Linked DNA regions of Homo sapiens: all the other regions are linked to region 2. Evidence: promoter capture Hi-C in 16 types of primary human blood cells and fetal thymus (Javierre and others, 2016). All regions are on one chromosome and are shown on one strand. The core of a region is centred on a gene start or on the middle of the fragment in contact, and the rest is flanking DNA. Distances in the headings are between cores, read along the strand shown.

Region 1 (3,324 bases), core at 678-3,177, 620 kb after region 2:
GTGCTTTGTTATGAAGTCACTGTTCTATGAAAATAAAAATTTAATCATGTAGGCTATGAAAAATTGTTTTGGGGTCATAGATGATGTAGTTAAGTTTCACTTCACTTATTAAATATTTATTGAGCTTATTTCAGATAAATCAGCATATCCACCAGATTCTATCTGTATTGACTTAATTTATTGGAAATCCTGGGATAAAAGTGTAGTAATACACCCTTCTAAATATTTGTTATTTGGGTGGTAGAATTAAAAACAATGCAGTCTTAGTGAATATATTTGTTAATATAGTGCTTAATGTCTTGGGATTCATTTTGTTAACTACAGTGGAACATAGGTCTGCATGATATATGTCAGTAGTATATAATTCAGAATCTTTTCAAGCTTTAAGTCATTTGGGGTTTTTAGCAGTTATCTTTTTTATTACATGTCCGTTGGAAGTATAAAATAGAACCATCCATTCTGTTTGTTCTTGGAAATTATTTTTCATATATACATTTCTCATTTTATTTGTTTCTGCCTGCATTTTAGTCGTGAGATGGAGAATAAAGAAACTCTCAAAGGGTTGCACAAGATGGATGATCGTCCAGAGGAACGAATGATCAGGGAGAAACTGAAGGCAACCTGTATGCCAGCCTGGAAGCACGAATGGTTGGAAAGGAGAAATAGGCGAGGGCCTGTGGTAAGTGGCTATGGGTTACCAGTTATAAGGAAGAAAGCATAGGAGGAAATGGAAAAGTAAGCATAAATAGATCCTCTTGTAAGCTTTTCTTCTTCATTTTAAATGTAGTAGTTTTCTTTACTTGATATTGTGGTCATTTGGAAGAAACCATAATTAAAACTGTGCTCATTAAACAACTTAAACTATTCTGGGAACTTAACTGTTGTGTTTGGTGGAGGGGTAAATGCTTAAACCAAGACTGCCCTCTCATGTCAGTATCTAAAATCCTTTCATTGGAGTTTTATACTGTACTTGTAAATTTTAAAAAGAATTTTTCCAGTTTATTTTAGATGTTTTATCTCTAAGACAGGATCCAAGGATCTTAATTTCAGAAATCTTCTAGGAAAGAAAACATTTAATTGCAGTAATTCATAAGTGTAATGATTGGGTTTTCACATGCATGCATAAGATGTGCGTTTCTCCAACTTTGTTACAGTGTCAGCATGTTATCCTCATTTGACATGAAAAAATGTTTAATAGACCTATGGGGATTAAGATAAATTAAAAATGTGTGGGGTTTGATGAAAGAAAATCTAGAGTCCTAGATTTTAAAAAGCAGGGATACTCTGTCCTTTGCTATAGGTATAAGAATATATATTCTTATAAGAATACCATCATGAAATGTGTGTCTTCATTCTTACAAAGGAAGAAGTATTACAGTATCCTAGCACTAATCTCTCTCAGCAAGTTTTTATTTTGTTCTTTTAAAACAGATATGGCAACTTAAAATTCATCTAAGCTTTGACAAGGGTCTAAATACACCCCTGCCAAGTGATTGTCTGCCCTACATTCATCCCATATGCCTATTTAAGTTTACATTTAAATTAATTAGATGTAAATAAAAGTAAAAATTTAGTTCCTCAGTCTCACCAACTACATTTCAAATGCTCAGTAACCACATGTGGCCAATGGCTACCTTTTAGGCAGTGCAGTTTTAGCACATTTTCACTGCCTCAGAAAGCTCTCTTAGATGTGTAGTACTGACTCGTGTCTGACTTAAATAACTCAATAATCCCTGTGGCTTTCGATATCCTCATCACTGAGCTGCAGTCTGTCAGGAATATTTTACCCACTGGTTCTCATTCTAACCGATGGAATTATACAGAATAAATCTAATTGTTCCTTTCCATACCAGCACTTGGTAAGTTATTATGGGCCCGTGAGTCCTTGTCTTTACAGCTAAGTTTCTACATTTCTTCCATTTATTACTCACGTGAGGTGGTATGGTGGGAACCCCTCACCATTTTAGCTATTCGTGCCAGAAGGTGAATATGAAGAAATTAAGGATTTATCTTAGAGAAGAGAAAGTGCTATTGAAACATCTTGTAGAATGTTGGCAGTTAAAAGGGCATATTACTACTCAATCAATATAAAGAACTTTTGAACAAGCAGAGCCATCTGAAGTTTGAATGTGCTGCTTTCTGAGCTCCTTTAGATGGAGGTGTTCAAACAGCCTAAATCTTTTGAGAATACCGTAGGGCATAAATCACAACTTTTTAAAAATGAGCCAGCTATTTGTTCTTTATTATACATGAACTAAGAATATCCAGTTCTCTAAAACAAAATTTTGGTTTTTATACTGTTCACTTTCTAGCAAGTACCAAAGTACCTTGTCTGTATATAAGACATGAGTGAAGAGGGAGGAGATGTGTGGAATAAGATGCATAACACATAGTCCTTAAGCTTAATTATGCCACCCTACATTTTATGATTTACGGATTTCGTATTATCCTTAGGAAGTTTACTGTTTACTTGGGAGGTCTGATTTTGTTTGTTTTTATACTTTAAGTAAGTTGTGTCAAATCATTCTTGAAACATAAAGGGTAAATATCTCCAAATGGGAAAATTAGACTTATACATAATAAATAGAGTAATACATGAAATATCACAAAGCAACTTGTGACTAGGTGCCAAATGTGTGGGATGGGCAGAAGAGCAATAGGGACTTAGGAAAGAGAAGGAATGTCTTGCTGGTAGACTTCAGGGAAGTTTCATAAAAGGAAGAATTTTAACTCAGCGTAGAAAGATGGGTAAATTTTCCTCATGTGAAGGTGTACTGCCTGGGGTGCTGCAGGCTGGAGATGAGTATTAAAATAGGAGGAGAGTGAGTGAAAGCACAGGAGGAGGAAGGGTCAGGCAAGTTTGGTGAACACAGCAACTGGCTATAGAACAGGAGCAGTGGGAGAAAGTCCAGAAAGGTCTGCTGAGCTTCAGTTGTACAAAGCTGTGGAGTTTGGCCTTTGGTCATGGCTAGATTAGGTCTGAAAGCCTTAATTAAAAAAAAAAAAAAAAAAAGGCAGGTCTTGTAAACTGCATTTCTGCTTGAGAAATTGATCTTTAAACTTCTAGTCTCTTTTGGTTTTCTGAGATACACATCTAACCTATTATTGTAATATAACATTGTAAAGAAACACACACACAAAGCAGGGAAAATGATTGCATAGTGATCAAACTATTTGAAATTATGCCCAGTGTTGTTTCAAGGTCCTACATTTTGTAAAAACAAATAAAAACGTACCTAGATCTTTGATCTAGTAGTTGAATAAGTTGACTGTAGAAGTTATGAGTGCTTATTTTTCACATTTGTTTAATCACCTTTGATTGTT
Region 2 (3,428 bases), core at 898-3,397:
AGAAAGGATTGAGAAATAGAGATAAAGATGGCAGGGAGAGGGTTAACTTCCATGGGAGAGAATCCGGCCCAGGTGGAGGAATTGCTGTGAATTGCTCACATGAAAGGTGTTAAAAGAAAATCAGTCTTGTAATTCTGTATCTTAACTATGTTTGGGGCTCAATCCTGTTAGAAGGTACAGCACTGGAACATGTAAATTCATTATGAAGAGCTAGTTCTTCTTCAGTCAGTCCCAGCTCCCTCCAATTAGTCTTCAAAAATAAACCCATTGTATGTTTCGTGGCTTAGCAACATCATTTTTCAGCCAGTGTGAGCTCTTTGGTTCTTAGCAGATTTTCACTTTTACTGACTGCCATCAGTGATATAAAATGTACCAGGAGGAGAGGATGGTGGTGGGCACAGCTGTGACAACGCCTTTCTCTATGCTGTTCAGATCCAAACACGGTATGAGCCGGCACGTTCTGAAGGCGCGCACACACACACACACACACACACACACACACACACACACACACATACACATACACAAACACTATTCCAAATGAGCTAAGACCTGGAGAACACACTATACACATATATACATTAGCTAACTCAGGAATCTAAATATAAATTTATTTTTGGAGAAACCCCCTGGGCTAAAATAATTCACCCACAAAGCCAGATGTAGCTTGAGGGGTAATAAACATGCTATGGCCTAGAGCAGGAAAAGGGAAAAAAGAATGAAGCAGTACATTTTCTTAATGAGGCTTTTTCAAACCACCATTTCATGTTGTAGCCAAAACAGATAAAATCACCAAAGGAACTTAGGATCTTGAAGAATATTCAGAGACTGTAGAAAGTGGTTTAAATAATAGATATTTAAGAAAAGATTCTAAAAAATATTTATTATGTTTATAAAATGGAAATTTCATGTTTATACTAAAAAAAGATTTACTATTACACATAAGTATTACACGAAGATGTATATAAACACATTGCATATGCAAAATGTATACACATAGACCACATGGCCAAATATGTGATATTATAAGGATAAGTTGATCTCACAGCAACATTTTGATGTGGAAAATTACCTCCACTCCAGAAATTATAAGTAAGGAAGATATACCCTGGCATTGCAAATAATAGCATAGGGATATGTCATTACACAACCTTGGATGAGATAACATATCAACCCGACATAAATACAGGCAACATCTATTCCTGAAAGGAATAAAAAAATGCTTACGAAGATACAGCAATGAGATACTGGGCTAATCGAATGACAAAAAAAATGTGATGTGTTCTTACATTGCTTACCCTAATTTTTAAAAAAGATTTGGAAAAAACAGAATAAAGATGACACTATCTGAAATAGTTGGTGTGCTTGAAATCCAGTTTTTAAAATTTGAAGGTAGGAATACTTCAACAAGATCATAAGCTTATACAACAGATCATAAGCTTATTTTTCTGTTTCAGATGCTTATCAAACTAGAAGTGAACATTTTGAACAGGTTTGTTTTCTAGGTGAAATCCTCTTTCCACATCCTACATAGCAAATACTCATGCACACCCACGCACATGAACACACACACACACACACACACACTTCTCTTTCTCTCCTTACAACTGTAAATCCATACCATGAGACTAAGGATGCTAACAACCAAAGAATGTGTTAAAGCAGCATTTTACCTCTTTGCTGATCAAACACAGAAGGGGTGCTGAAATCCATGGTAGCCTGTCTCATCATTTACCATCAGAATGGCAAAAAGCATCCAGGTCTCTAGAGAGGAGAAAACACCATCTCAAACCTTACTGTCAACATGACAGTCAGAGGCAGCATCGTTTGCCAAGACCTCTGTTTCAGGATTAAATGTGCATCAGAGCTGCAGGTTGTTGTCAAGGCAAGGTGATGAAAATAGGTAAATGCTATTCCTGTAAATACCTGCTAGGAAAAGAGTTACTCTATGGCCTCATTCATCAGCTGTACATGGGCATAATACACCCTCCACCCCCAAATCAATAAACACAATTACTCAAACTCCAAAAAGATAGTAAAATTGTATGGGCCACCTGCCTTGGATCTGGGCTGGAAAAACACAGCAGATCACGGAGCTTCAGCAGCTGGAATGTCGCTTTACACCAACAGAAATCTGAATGGGTGAGTGAGGATTCACAGGGCCAGACAGAGCATGTGCAAAGCTGCCAATGCAGTTCGCATTCGGCTGTGCTTTTGGCGGAGTGAGAACTGCATTTGGGTCATGTGAGCAGAGAGTGCCATCTCAATGGAATAGGATGTAAATATTGTAGCAGGAGGCTGCTGGCCATGTGCTGTGTGGAGTAATTATCCATGTTGGCAGTCTTCTTCACTCCCCTTTCAGCTCCGTTCTCCAATTGACAGGGAGGATGGGGAAAGGCGTCATTTGAAAGGTGACATTTCAAGGCTCGAGTGTCTGTGGTGATAAAATTAAAACAGTCTGCTGTCACAAGGGTGTTTATTGTAGCATTACATGTAGTAAAACCTGAAAAATCACCCGAATGTACCTCATTCAGGGAGCAGCTAAGTAAATGGTAGTAAATTCGTACTCTAGATTTAAAAATCTGACATAAATAAATCTGTGTATTTATCTGGTGACATGTCACTAATCTATTGTTAAATGAAATAAACAAGTTATATATTTCATTTGTTCGTGTTTTAATAAAACCGGAAACCACTCACTGTATACATTATTTTTATATATTCAGACGAACACTGAAAAAGATGTAGAAAGATACGTACTAAACTGCTAATATTGGTTCCCTCAGGCCACTGTGATTAGAGTAGGAGATTTCTAACTTGTTCTGTATCAATCTCTGTATTTTTGGCTTGTTAATAACCAGTATCTATTATCTTGTATTTGTAATAAAAATATGATATACTAAATTCAAACAAAGTTCTATATTCTAGGCACAACCAGATTTTTGGATAAGTCAAATAGCCATATAGTAGATGCTTGTTGAATCTAATAATAAACACCAGCTTCCTTTGCCCTTGGATAGGATGATTCTGAGGCATGGTGTTTTACTCCGTTTGCCATTTCCCTTTCAGGATTAAACTCCTTCAGGGTTAAACTCCACTGCCACCTGTGAGAATAGGTCTAATAACGTTCTTTTTATGGGCTGCTGTTCCCTCCCTGTATTACTTTCCCACGTTCCTACTGATATTTCCTGCACTTCTCAATAAGTTACTTGCATTGGAATCATTGTCTCAGGGTCTGCTTTTACGGAAACCCAAATTAAAATATTTCTCCACAAGAGGGTACATTTCATAAGGGCAGGGTCTTTGTCTACTCTTTCTTTGTCTGCTTTGTCCACTCCATGTCCTTACAGCCTAGCACAGAGAGGGGCACAAAGGAGGTGCTCAGTACATTTCAGTGCATGAGTGAAACTTCACTGAAGAACTTTCCT
Region 3 (3,476 bases), core at 75-2,574, 640 kb after region 2:
TTTTCCCAATGTTTAATCCCCGTGCCTGCCAAGAATTTTTATCATGTTTCTTATTTGCTGCCATTTAAAATTAATTTCTCTTTTCATATCCTAATGGCATACAATGGGTGCTTAATAATTGCAGAGGAGATGAATAAGAAAAAAATATGTGATGGTTACCTTGAGTTCATCATTTTTATTTGTAAGAACAGTTTCCCATCCCTTTACCATCTCTTCTGATTGAATGTTTTTTCATCCTCAGTAAGTAGGGCTTTTTTGTCAGTTGGTTTGTAATGATTTTCTTGGTTGTTGAATGCTCAGTCTATTATTTTTTAAATGTAGGATCTAAAACCAGACGGGTCTCCAGTAGACAATAATAAAGTAAAATAATTATTTTCAATAATCTGTTAAATTCTGTTGAATTAAATTTGTGAACAGGTGCATTAACACATTGAGCTTATATATCATTAGGATTTGTTACATTTTTCTTTTGTGACCATTACAGTCCTGCAGCTTTGGAATTCTCTTAGCATATTAGCAACCCATTTATGAATCTAATAAAATCTGCAAAAATATTAAACACATTCTTGTACCTAGTTCATTAATGAAATTTAATGAACTATTAATGAACATAGGCCCTCACCTGCCCTTTCATGACCCATCAAAGAACTCTCAAGTTGATTCTGAGCTGTTAGAGTTCATTCTTTCAAGCATATGGTCTAGTTTGTTTTGCCTAAGCTTTAGGTCAGACTAGGCTCTACATTCCTAGCTTTTTATTAAGCATGTTAGGTAAGACAGTTAAAACATAGGTAGTGGTACACTACTTAACAGTACCAGAAGCTCACTATATTCTAGTTGGTTCATTCTCCCATAATATCCCTTTATAACAAAACATATGTAAATAAGTATGTTATGATCTGTTTTTCAAAAGTTGTGTTTATTCATCTTTAATATTTAGGCATTTTTCACATAATGAATTATCTTAGGTATTAAGCTTACTTTTAGCTAATTGGCCCATAATGTCAAGACCATTCACCCTTTCCTCACTGTAGGGACTCTGGCTTTTGGGGCATGGTATTGACGACGATAACAGCATATACTATAATTCTACGTCTACATTTATCCTTTGCTTACTCGAACACAAGCATTTTTTCTTCAGTTGTTTGATTTGTCCACTCCATTCGTTTTACAGTCCTACCTGTTTTGTCTAGTTTTTTAAACCTTTTTATACAGACAAAAACCAATTAAATGTGTTTTGCTTATTGCTCTTGTCTGTAAGAGAAATACTCTATATCTCTTGAAACCTTCTCCTGGTGCTTTTTTTGATTTGTTTTTTGTTTGTTTGTTTGTTTTCTTAATCTTGCTCCAGTTTTTCTCTTTAAACTACCTTAATATGAATACAGAGTTGAGGTTTTCACAGTTTTTTGGCGTTTTGGTAAGCATGTGGGACAGTAGAGGCATAGAATGTATGTATAGCCATCTAGTGACTTAATGGAGCTTATTATTAATTTTACCTGAGCTAATAAATATTAATGACTTTGGATAATTATCAGTTAAACTTGAGTATAAAATTCTTCCTTATGATGCTTAAGTGGCTGGATATATTTGAAGTTGTGAAGGATGGTAAAGATTTCAGAAATGTCCAGTTTTTACGTAGTAATCAAAAATGATGCTAAACTCAAAATGCTCTGGGTCCATAAGCTTTTCTTTACATTGAATTCATCGTGTGTGTTTGATACAGGTGTTTGGAATGGAACTCGTTGGCTGCTTATTTTCTAGAAACTGGAATGTGAGAGAGATGGCCCTCAGGCGTCTTTCCCATGATGTCAGTGGGGCCCTGCTGTTGGCAAATGGGGAGAGCACTGGAAATTCTGGGGGCAGCAGTGGAAGCAGCCCGAGTGGGGGAGCCACCAGTGGGTCTTCCCAGACCAGTATCTCAGGAGATGTGGTGGAGGCATGCTGCAGCGTTCTGTCAATGGTCTGTGCTGACCCTGTCTACAAAGTGTACGTTGCTGCTTTAGTAAGTAGCTTTATTCCATAATCATATCATTATGGGTTTGGGGTTTTTTGATGGTTCGTAGATAGTGTTTTTAAGATACAATAAAGCTACTTTACCTAATTTTGGAAAATCCAAATTTTATTTTTATTCCATAATTCCAGGAAATTACAGCTTTTGTTTTGTTTATTTGAATTTTACTGATTTTTATGATGTCCAAGGTTTCTTATATAACTGTTTTACTTTTTAGTTTCATTGTTTTAAAGGCTTTGCAGGGGTATCCAAGGGAGAGAATATAGTCATGGTTTCTTAGTTTCTGTTTGGGCCAGTAAAGCTCCTTCCTCATCCTCCTTTTCCACTTACCACTAGAGACAGACTAAAAACCATGGCTTCAGGCTGCTAAAGCCTAAAACAAAACAAAACAAAACAGAACAACAACAAATAGGGTGAGCTAGACAAGCTTGCTAATTTTTAAAGATTTTTTTAATGTCTTGCTGTTCATATCTGTACATTTTTCTGAGCAGATACCTTATACATGACCAAATTAAAAATGCTTTTTGGGATGGCAGAGTCATCAACGTTATTCTGATTTTTTAAAAAATTTATCAGATATTAAGGAAGATATGTTTTTAATAAACATTTTGATTGATTTTTAATAAACATTGTCATGTGGAGATTCAAAAGCCTTTTCAAAGAAAAGGGTTCCATGACATAGATCATTGAGTTGTTTTCCAGTTTAACCTGTTAAAAGTTCTTTCATGGGTGGAATAGAGTGACAAGGAGGTAATTTAGGAGACTAACTGGACTTTCTCCATTCTGCGTATATGTCTCTTTAGGGCTTCTCAGCCTCAGTACTATTAACATTTGTTAGATAATTATTTGTTGGAGGGTGGGGGGAGGGCCAGGGATGTTGTCATGTGTGTACTGTGGCAGCATCTCTGGCCTCTACCCATTAGATACCAGGAGCAAACCCACCCCCACCCGATCATGCCCCCAGTTATGACAACCAAGAATGTCTCCAGGCATTGCCAAATGTCTCCAGTGGTCAAAACTGCCCCCAATTCAGAATCACTACTTTAATTCTTATCTAGTCTGTTCTTAAAATTCATGAGCAGTCTGTAGGCTTCCTCCCTCAGTCTTTTTCTAATGCATCCTCTACCGATTGGGCCTAATGAATCTTCTTGACAGGTAATACAGCATGACAGTTACGAACATGGGTTTGGAGTCACAATTGAGTGATCTCATAATTTATCATTCCAACCACAATGCTTGCATAATGTGCTGGTTAAAGTTGGACTAGCCTAGGCAATCTGAACACATGATCAAGATCATAGAGACAGACCTGGATTCAAATTCTGGTTCTCCCTTTTACTAGCACGATGGCTTTATGAAGGTTACTTAACCTCTCTTAAATAAACTTCAGTTTTCTCACCCATAAAATAATGAAAATACCTTTTAGGTTTGAAATTAGATTATGTAGAAACTTTCAACCATATGCCTG
Region 4 (3,541 bases), core at 258-2,757, 610 kb after region 2:
TAGAAAACAGTTATGATGAATGTCTTTTGAAGCATATAGCAGGAAAAGTCATAAGTCAAAACCTGCCAGTTTAAAGTAAATGCAATTATTTGGTTCTATGAAATTGTAGCTTTTGCTATAGTGAAAAGAAATTGGCATATTTATGAACAACTCCAGGATCTCATTGAAATGAGGAAGACATTATTTAGGAAGACAGTAATGATTCAGACTATATTTAGGACAGGATGTTAGAGTTAATGTGCCTTCTCTTTCAAGTGATTAGTGGGCAGATGACATCTTTGGTATTAATGATTGCCTGAGTTAACATTTTTAAGGAAAGAGTGCCACCTACTGAATGAAGAGCTTTTGTTTTCTTCCATTCAATTCGAAGAATCTTGTTTCACTTTGAATCCTTAGTGGGTGGCATTTGCTGGGCAGTGATCCCGTCTTCCAGTGGATTGACTAGGGTAGCTAGGATTCTTAGAGGGAGTTTATGCCCCCAAAACCAGGTGTAGAAACAAAACCTAAGCATAAACATGATTCAGCACTTGGCAAGTCTCAAAACCTTACCATCATGTTAATGTACTCACTGGCCCAGAAGGTTTTTTGTTTTGTTTTGTTTTGAGCTAGGAGCAAATGGCTGGGAGGAAATGAACTATTCCAAAAAATAATTGAAGGGGATTGAAGAGCATATGACATTGGTCGAGATCTTCTGGGGAGACTTCGTTTTCCTAGGGAATAATATTAGTGCAGAGATTGCTTGATCACAACTTGGCCATAGGTCAGTGGAGGGATTCCTGAGGTCAAGTTGCGAATCCAAAGGCCTACTTCAGAGTAATCCATATGGTGCTCTTTTTGTAGTTCCTAACAATAGTATCTCATTAGTGAAAGGTTGAGTACATGAACAGCAGCAAACACACCAGTATCCGAATTAAAGGACATCATTTGAGAATTTCGCATAGTCATTATTTTTAGTATATTGGGACATTTTTGATGTTGTGGCTTAATTGACTACTAGGCATCAGCCATCTCCAGCTTTTTCCACTTGTCGATTGGATTATGCAAGTCATGAGTGGTATTTAAAAGAGGTGGACTGTATGCTAAATTGATTTATCCTTGCTTATGTGTACAGATTAATGGTATAATCCATGAGGGGTGATAGATTAAGATCCTGAAGTGAAAAAATACATATATAGTGTCAGGTATATTAACCAATGGTTAGTTGCCTTTTATTTTTCCAGTGTAAAGTATAGCAGATCCTTCAATAATGTCATTTAGTTGAACATTTTGGACAATTTTGCTAAAAAGTTGATGAGGATAAAAATCTCTTCTGGCAGAGGCTACTGTCTGTATGGAGTTTGCATACTCCCCCCATCTCTGGGTGGATTTTCTCTCAGTACTCTGGTTTCCCCCTGACACCCCAAAGATGTGCACGTTAGGTTCATTGTCATGTCTGCAAGGACCCAGACTGAGAGAATGTGGGTGTTTGTTAATGCACCCTGCAACGGGATGACATCCTACCCAGGGCTAGTTCAAGTCTGGCACCCTGAATTGTTGGGACAGGCTCTGGCCACCTGTGACCCTGAACTGGAATAAGTGGGTAAATAATCATCTTATTAATGTTTCTTAAATGTATGTTACAGCTCACATTTTTTCAGTGTTTAGTGTTAGAAGTGTTTGGGGTCTCTAGAAGTTTGGTGATGTTTTTGTGACCAGAAATATGCCATAGAAACTTTCCCACTTGTTTACATCAATTGGCCTATGGTAAAGTTGGTTTTAAAGTCAAAGTTTCTCTTATTGTGTAACTTGCCATTGACATCTACTCATGTTACTTAAATAAGCGTTTTGTTTGTTTGTTTGTTTTTTGTTTTTTTGAGATGGAGCCTTGCTCTGTCACCCAGGCCGGAGTACAGTGCCCTGATCTCGGCTCACTGCAACCTCCGCCTCCCAAGTTCAAACGATTCTCCTGCCTCAGCCTCCCAGTTAGCCGGGATTACAGGCACATGCCACCACACCTGGCTAATTTTTGTATTTTTAGTAGAGGCAGGGTTTCACCATGTTGGCCAGGCTGGTCTTGAACTCCAGACTTGAGGTGTTCTACCCGCCTCGGCCTCCTAAAGTGCTGGGATTACAGGCATGAGCCACTGCGTCCAGCCAAATAATGAGTATTAATTGGCTGAATAGCAAGTATTCTCTGAAAACATTATTTAATAATACAAAACTTGTAAATATTTTAGCAATAACTGTGTTTTCAGATTTGCACTCAGAAAACTAGTATGACTTTTAATATTGTATCCCAGCTTTTCTCCTTTTAAAAAACAGAAAACCCTAACTTCTGTAACTTGACTGAGATTAAGCGTATCTGATACCATTATTCCAGATTATGAGAAAAGTCAGCTGTGTGGCTACAGAGAGCTCTGGCCTGAAGTAGTTATTAATAGAATTCACATTGGGACGTAAAAACAACTGGAACTGAAACTTGGTCTGAGAGCCGCCATGTTTCATGTCTCATTTCAGGCTACTACTTTGCATCTTTTTGACTTACAGCACTTAAATATGCAAATGCAAAATTGTTAAGGTTTTTTTTTTTTTTTTTTAAAGATGGAGTCTTGTTCTGTCTGTCACCCAGGCTGGAGTGCAGTGGCACGTTCTCAGCTCACTGTAACCTCCGCTTCCCGAGTTCAAGCGATTCTCCTGCCTCAGCCTCCTGAGTAGCTGGGATTACAGGCATGCACCACCACGCCCAGCTAATTTGTGTGTGTGTTTAGTAGAGATGGGGTTTTGCCATATTGGCTGGGCAAGGTGTTTCACACCTGTAATCCCAGCCCTTTGGGAGGCCAAGGCAGGCAGATCATCTGAGGTCAAAATTGTTAAGCCTTTTAAGGAAGAGAAATGTATGGCTTATTGATTTAAAAAAAAAAAAAACTAGACAGGTTAATATTTTTCATGTAAAACGATCTTAAAATCTTTGTGCTCTCTACTTTCTCGAATGTTCTGCTTGACAGTTGTCTGAACTTTCTGAGAGCTTTGATAGAGTCTTATACATAATACGTGCCTCTCTTAGTAATAAAGTTTGAATTGCTATGATAGTGAATATTGGAGGAGTCTAAAAGTTCGTAACAGTATGTCACCCATACTGATATACTGCCTGAGTTAGTACAAGGGGTCTGCAGATCCACTTAGCTACCACGTAGATGGTGATGATACCTTAAGAAAGGATTTTCACATTCAAAAACATGGAGAGCCACTGGATTATAGAATGACAAAGAATATTTTACTCAAAAAAATTTTGGGAAGTACTCTCCAGATTTAACGATTAAAAGGAATTTGTGGTCCTATTGAGCTTTCTATCTTCTGATGGTGTCTATCTGCCTGACAGGAATAATATTGATGTGGCAGTGGCGATAAATGAATTGTATGTTCACACTGAATGACCCTAAGCTATCATCTTGTAGTCTGATGTGATTTCATAGGTTCTTAAGTTCCAAAAAGGTTGTGAATTTCTTAAGAGCATGTCATGGCTAATGGCACAGTCAGGACTTGATTATGAATTTCCAGACCC
Region 5 (3,229 bases), core at 2-2,501, 900 kb after region 2:
TTAAGTCCTTTACACATGGATTATTTATTTATTTATTTATTTATTTTCGAGACAGAGTTTCACTCTTGTCCCTCAGGCTGGAGTGCAATGGTGAGATCTTGGTTCACTGCAACCTCTGCCTCCCGGGTTCAAGCAATTCTCCTGCCTCAGCCTCGAGAGTAGCTAGGATTACAGGTGCACGCCACCACGCCCAGCTAATTTTTGTATTTTTAGTAGAGACGGGGTTTCACCATGTTGGCCAAGCTGGTCTTGAACTCCTGACCTCAGGTGATCTGCCGGCCTCAGCCTCCCAAAGTGCTGGGATTACAGGCGTCAGCCGCCACACCCGGCCCTTTTCACATGGATTTTTCAGGCTTGGGGGTTTCTTCCTTGCCCATTCTTCAGACCGTACGATACAAGTGCCCAGAATATGGGGGACCTTTATCAGGTACCCTAGTTATTGTATGGAGTTGGTTGACAAGCCTCATTTTGCAGGAACTTGTGTCTACTCTTCCATTCGCTAGATCTGAATTCTTAGTATGCCTCATTTTCCATGAACTGGATTATTTCAGGTTTTTGGTCTCCAGCCTAAAACTGCTGTTACTGCTGATACTTGCTCTCCAAATGTTAATCCCCTCCCTAGGAAGCTCCACATCCCTCCCAGTTTGTCTTCTCTCTGAGGTCCCTGTTAAATTTCTCTCACTCTATCTGCCTGTGCAAAAATGAGATAAAAATGAAATTTTCAACCATAATGTCCATCAAAGGAGGGTAGAGCCTGGTAAATAAAAGCCTTTTTGTTCTACTGAACATTTGGATGTGTTTGGATATGCAAAACGGGGGCCAGATCTTAGCCTGGAAGTAGACAGCAGTGAGAACTGCTGTGTTCTGTGTAAAGAATAAGAATTTGCATTTGGGGGCTGCAGTTCAGGAAGGAGAGGGTACTGAAATGATACAAGACCCAGGAGAGAAGAGAAACAATCTAGCCAGGGTGTTACTAAATACCTATATGAGTCAGAAGCCAATAGAAAAATTCCCTGGGGCCGGGTACGGTGGCTCACGCCTGTAATCCCAGTACTTTAGGAGGCCGAGGCGGGCGGATCACGAGGTCAGGAGATGGAGACCATCCTGGCTAACACGGTGAAACCCCATCTCTACTAAAAAATACAAAAAATTAGCCAGGCGAGGTGGCGGGTGCCTGTAGTCCCAGCTACTCGGGAGGCTGAGGCAGGAGAATGGCGTGAACCTGTGAGATTCCGCCACTGCACTCCAGCCTGGGTGACAGAGCGAGACTCCGTCTCGAAAAAAAAAAAAAAAAAAAAAGAAAAGAAAAGAAAAAGAAAAATTCCTTGGAAAAGAACTTTTAAGAAGTATCTAGTATTTGGCTGGGAGCGGTGGCTCATGCCTGTAATCCCAGAACTTTGGGAGGCCGAGGCAGGCAGATCACCTGAGATCAGGAGTTCAAGACCAGCCTGGCCAACATGGGGAAACCCTACAGACTAAAAATACAAAAATTAACTGGGCGTGGTGGTACGCGCCTGTAGTTGCAGCTACTCAGGAAGCTGAGGCAGGAGAATCGCTTGAAGTCGGGAGGCAGAAGTTGCAGTGAGCTGAGATCGCACCACCGCATTCCAGCCTGGGTGACAGGACAAGACTCTGTCTCAAAAAAAAAAGAAGTATCTAGTATTCAAGTGGAAGGGTTCATGTTGTTGAGCTGTGAATACCCATACCTCATTCATTTTCACTCCCAAAATTTTCATCAAAGTCTGATAAAAAACAAAAATGTACTGGGTGCAGTGGCTCACACCTGTTAAATCCCCAAACTTTGGGAGGCTGAGGTGGGAGGATCACTTGAGGCCAGGAGTTGAAGACCAGCTTGGGCAACATGATGAGACCTTGTCTCTAGAAAAAAAAATGTTAAAAAATTAGCTGAGCATGATGGCATGTGTCTGTGGTAGCAGCTACTTGGGAGGCTGAGGTGGGAGGATCAATTGAGCCTAAGAAGTTGAGGCTGCAGTGAGCCATGATCTTGCCACTGCACTCCAGCCTGGGCAACAGAGCAAGAACCTGTCTCAAAAAACAAAAGCAAAAATACCTCATGTTGGCTGGGCAAAGCGGCTCATGCCTGTAATCTCAGCACTTTGGGAGGCTGAGGTGGTTGGATCACATGAGGTCAGGAGTTTGAGACCAGCCTGATCAATATGGTGAAACCCCGTCTCTACTAAAAATACAAAAATTTGTGGTGATGTGCGCCTGTAGTCCCAGCTACTCAGTAGGCTGAGACAGGATAATTGCTTGAATCTGGGAGGCAGAGGTTGCAGTGAGCAGAGATTGTGCTATTTGCACTTCTAGCCTGAGCGACACAGCAAGACTCCGTCTAAAAAAAAAAAAACAAACTTCATGTTAACAGATAATAACATCTGTGGAGGTGGGTGTGGGGTGGGAGGTGAGCAGTGGAGTGAGTAGTGGTATTATAAGTATGTATCAATTGAAACAGGTAATGAAATTAACCAATGGATCCGCATGGTGCAGAATGGAACAGCTGTGTCAGAAATAAGGTGACAATCTATTAACTGACCCTGCTTAGTGGAAGCCAGAAGCAGAGAAAGTCAAGGAGAAGGAGGAGGAGGAAGAAAAATGAAGAGGTGAAAATAGCTAATACTTACAAGGCATGCCAGGATTTGTTCTAAATGCTTTGTTTATACATATAAAGGTGACCATGAGAACGTCATACCTTCCCCAACATCTACCTCCTCCCTCCCAGAGAGTCACAGAAATCTTAGGGAGGGCTTTGGACTTCTCATAGTGAGTAACTAGCATTCAAGCCAATCTTGTCTAGATCTCGTAGGTAGGAGACTTCAGATAACACCTGGGTAGCATTTAAGCTTTAGCTCTTACTTCCAAGAATGCTCCAAGGGAGGTTTAAGTCATAATACAATGTTACATCACAGCTTCCTTCTAGCTTCTAGTCCTGAAAGTGCCCTCAAACTCATCATTAGAGCATACCTTTATTGTATTTTCAAGTGTATCATAACTATTGTGTATATTTAAATAGGCAAAAGTTCCTTTTGTGGACCTTGATTATAAATACATACACACACTTTTTTTCTATTTCCTTTTTTTTTTTTTTTTTTTTGTGATGGAGTCTCACTCTGTCGCCCAGGCTGGAGTGCAGTGGCACGATCTCGGCTCACTGCAACTTCCGCCTCCGCGGTTCAAGCGATTCTCCTCCCGAGTAGCTGGGACTACAGGC

What was found. Contacts are between HindIII fragments. The CHiCAGO score rates a contact against its expected background, and 5 or more counts as called.
Region 1: a fragment that was not itself captured here is called in contact with the fragment with the promoter of ANKRD55 in region 2 in 3 of 17 cell types (total CD8 T cells, naive CD8 T cells and naive B cells); the score reaches 5.7 in total CD8 T cells.
Region 3: a contact is called between a fragment that was not itself captured here and the fragment with the promoter of ANKRD55 in region 2, in 1 of 17 cell types (naive CD4 T cells). The highest score is 5.4, in naive CD4 T cells.
Region 4: a contact is called between a fragment that was not itself captured here and the fragment with the promoter of ANKRD55 in region 2, in 3 of 17 cell types (total CD8 T cells, naive CD4 T cells and total CD4 T cells). The highest score is 6.4, in total CD8 T cells.
Region 5: a fragment that was not itself captured here is called in contact with the fragment with the promoter of ANKRD55 in region 2 in 1 of 17 cell types (neutrophils); the score reaches 5.3 in neutrophils.

The regions. Positions count from the first base shown.
Region 1 is chr5:56,856,072-56,859,395 of GRCh38, forward strand. MAP3K1 (mitogen-activated protein kinase kinase kinase 1) reads left to right here. Exons shown (of 20, transcript NM_005921.2): 2 at 529-679. It also overlaps the pseudogene LOC124901214. Among named protein-coding and RNA genes, the nearest start is that of MAP3K1, 42 kb to the left of the region's middle. The HindIII fragment of the contact is 944 bases long and covers 1,456-2,399 here.
Region 2 is chr5:56,231,183-56,234,610 of GRCh38, forward strand. ANKRD55 (ankyrin repeat domain 55) reads right to left here and starts at 2,148. Exons shown (of 12, transcript NM_024669.3): 1 at 2,059-2,148; 2 at 1,674-1,764. The coding sequence starts at 1,731. The HindIII fragment of the contact is 3,640 bases long and covers 1,438-3,428 here.
Region 3 is chr5:56,873,312-56,876,787 of GRCh38, forward strand. MAP3K1 (mitogen-activated protein kinase kinase kinase 1) reads left to right here. Exons shown (of 20, transcript NM_005921.2): 10 at 1,721-1,999. Among named protein-coding and RNA genes, the nearest start is that of SETD9, 35 kb to the right of the region's middle. The HindIII fragment of the contact is 707 bases long and covers 972-1,678 here.
Region 4 is chr5:56,838,313-56,841,853 of GRCh38, forward strand. All of the region lies in intron 1 of MAP3K1 (mitogen-activated protein kinase kinase kinase 1), which reads left to right. Among named protein-coding and RNA genes, the nearest start is that of MAP3K1, 25 kb to the left of the region's middle. The HindIII fragment of the contact is 4,132 bases long and covers 1-3,541 here.
Region 5 is chr5:57,134,830-57,138,058 of GRCh38, forward strand. No RefSeq gene overlaps it. Among named protein-coding and RNA genes, the nearest start is that of GPBP1, 38 kb to the right of the region's middle. The HindIII fragment of the contact is 3,215 bases long and covers 1-2,859 here.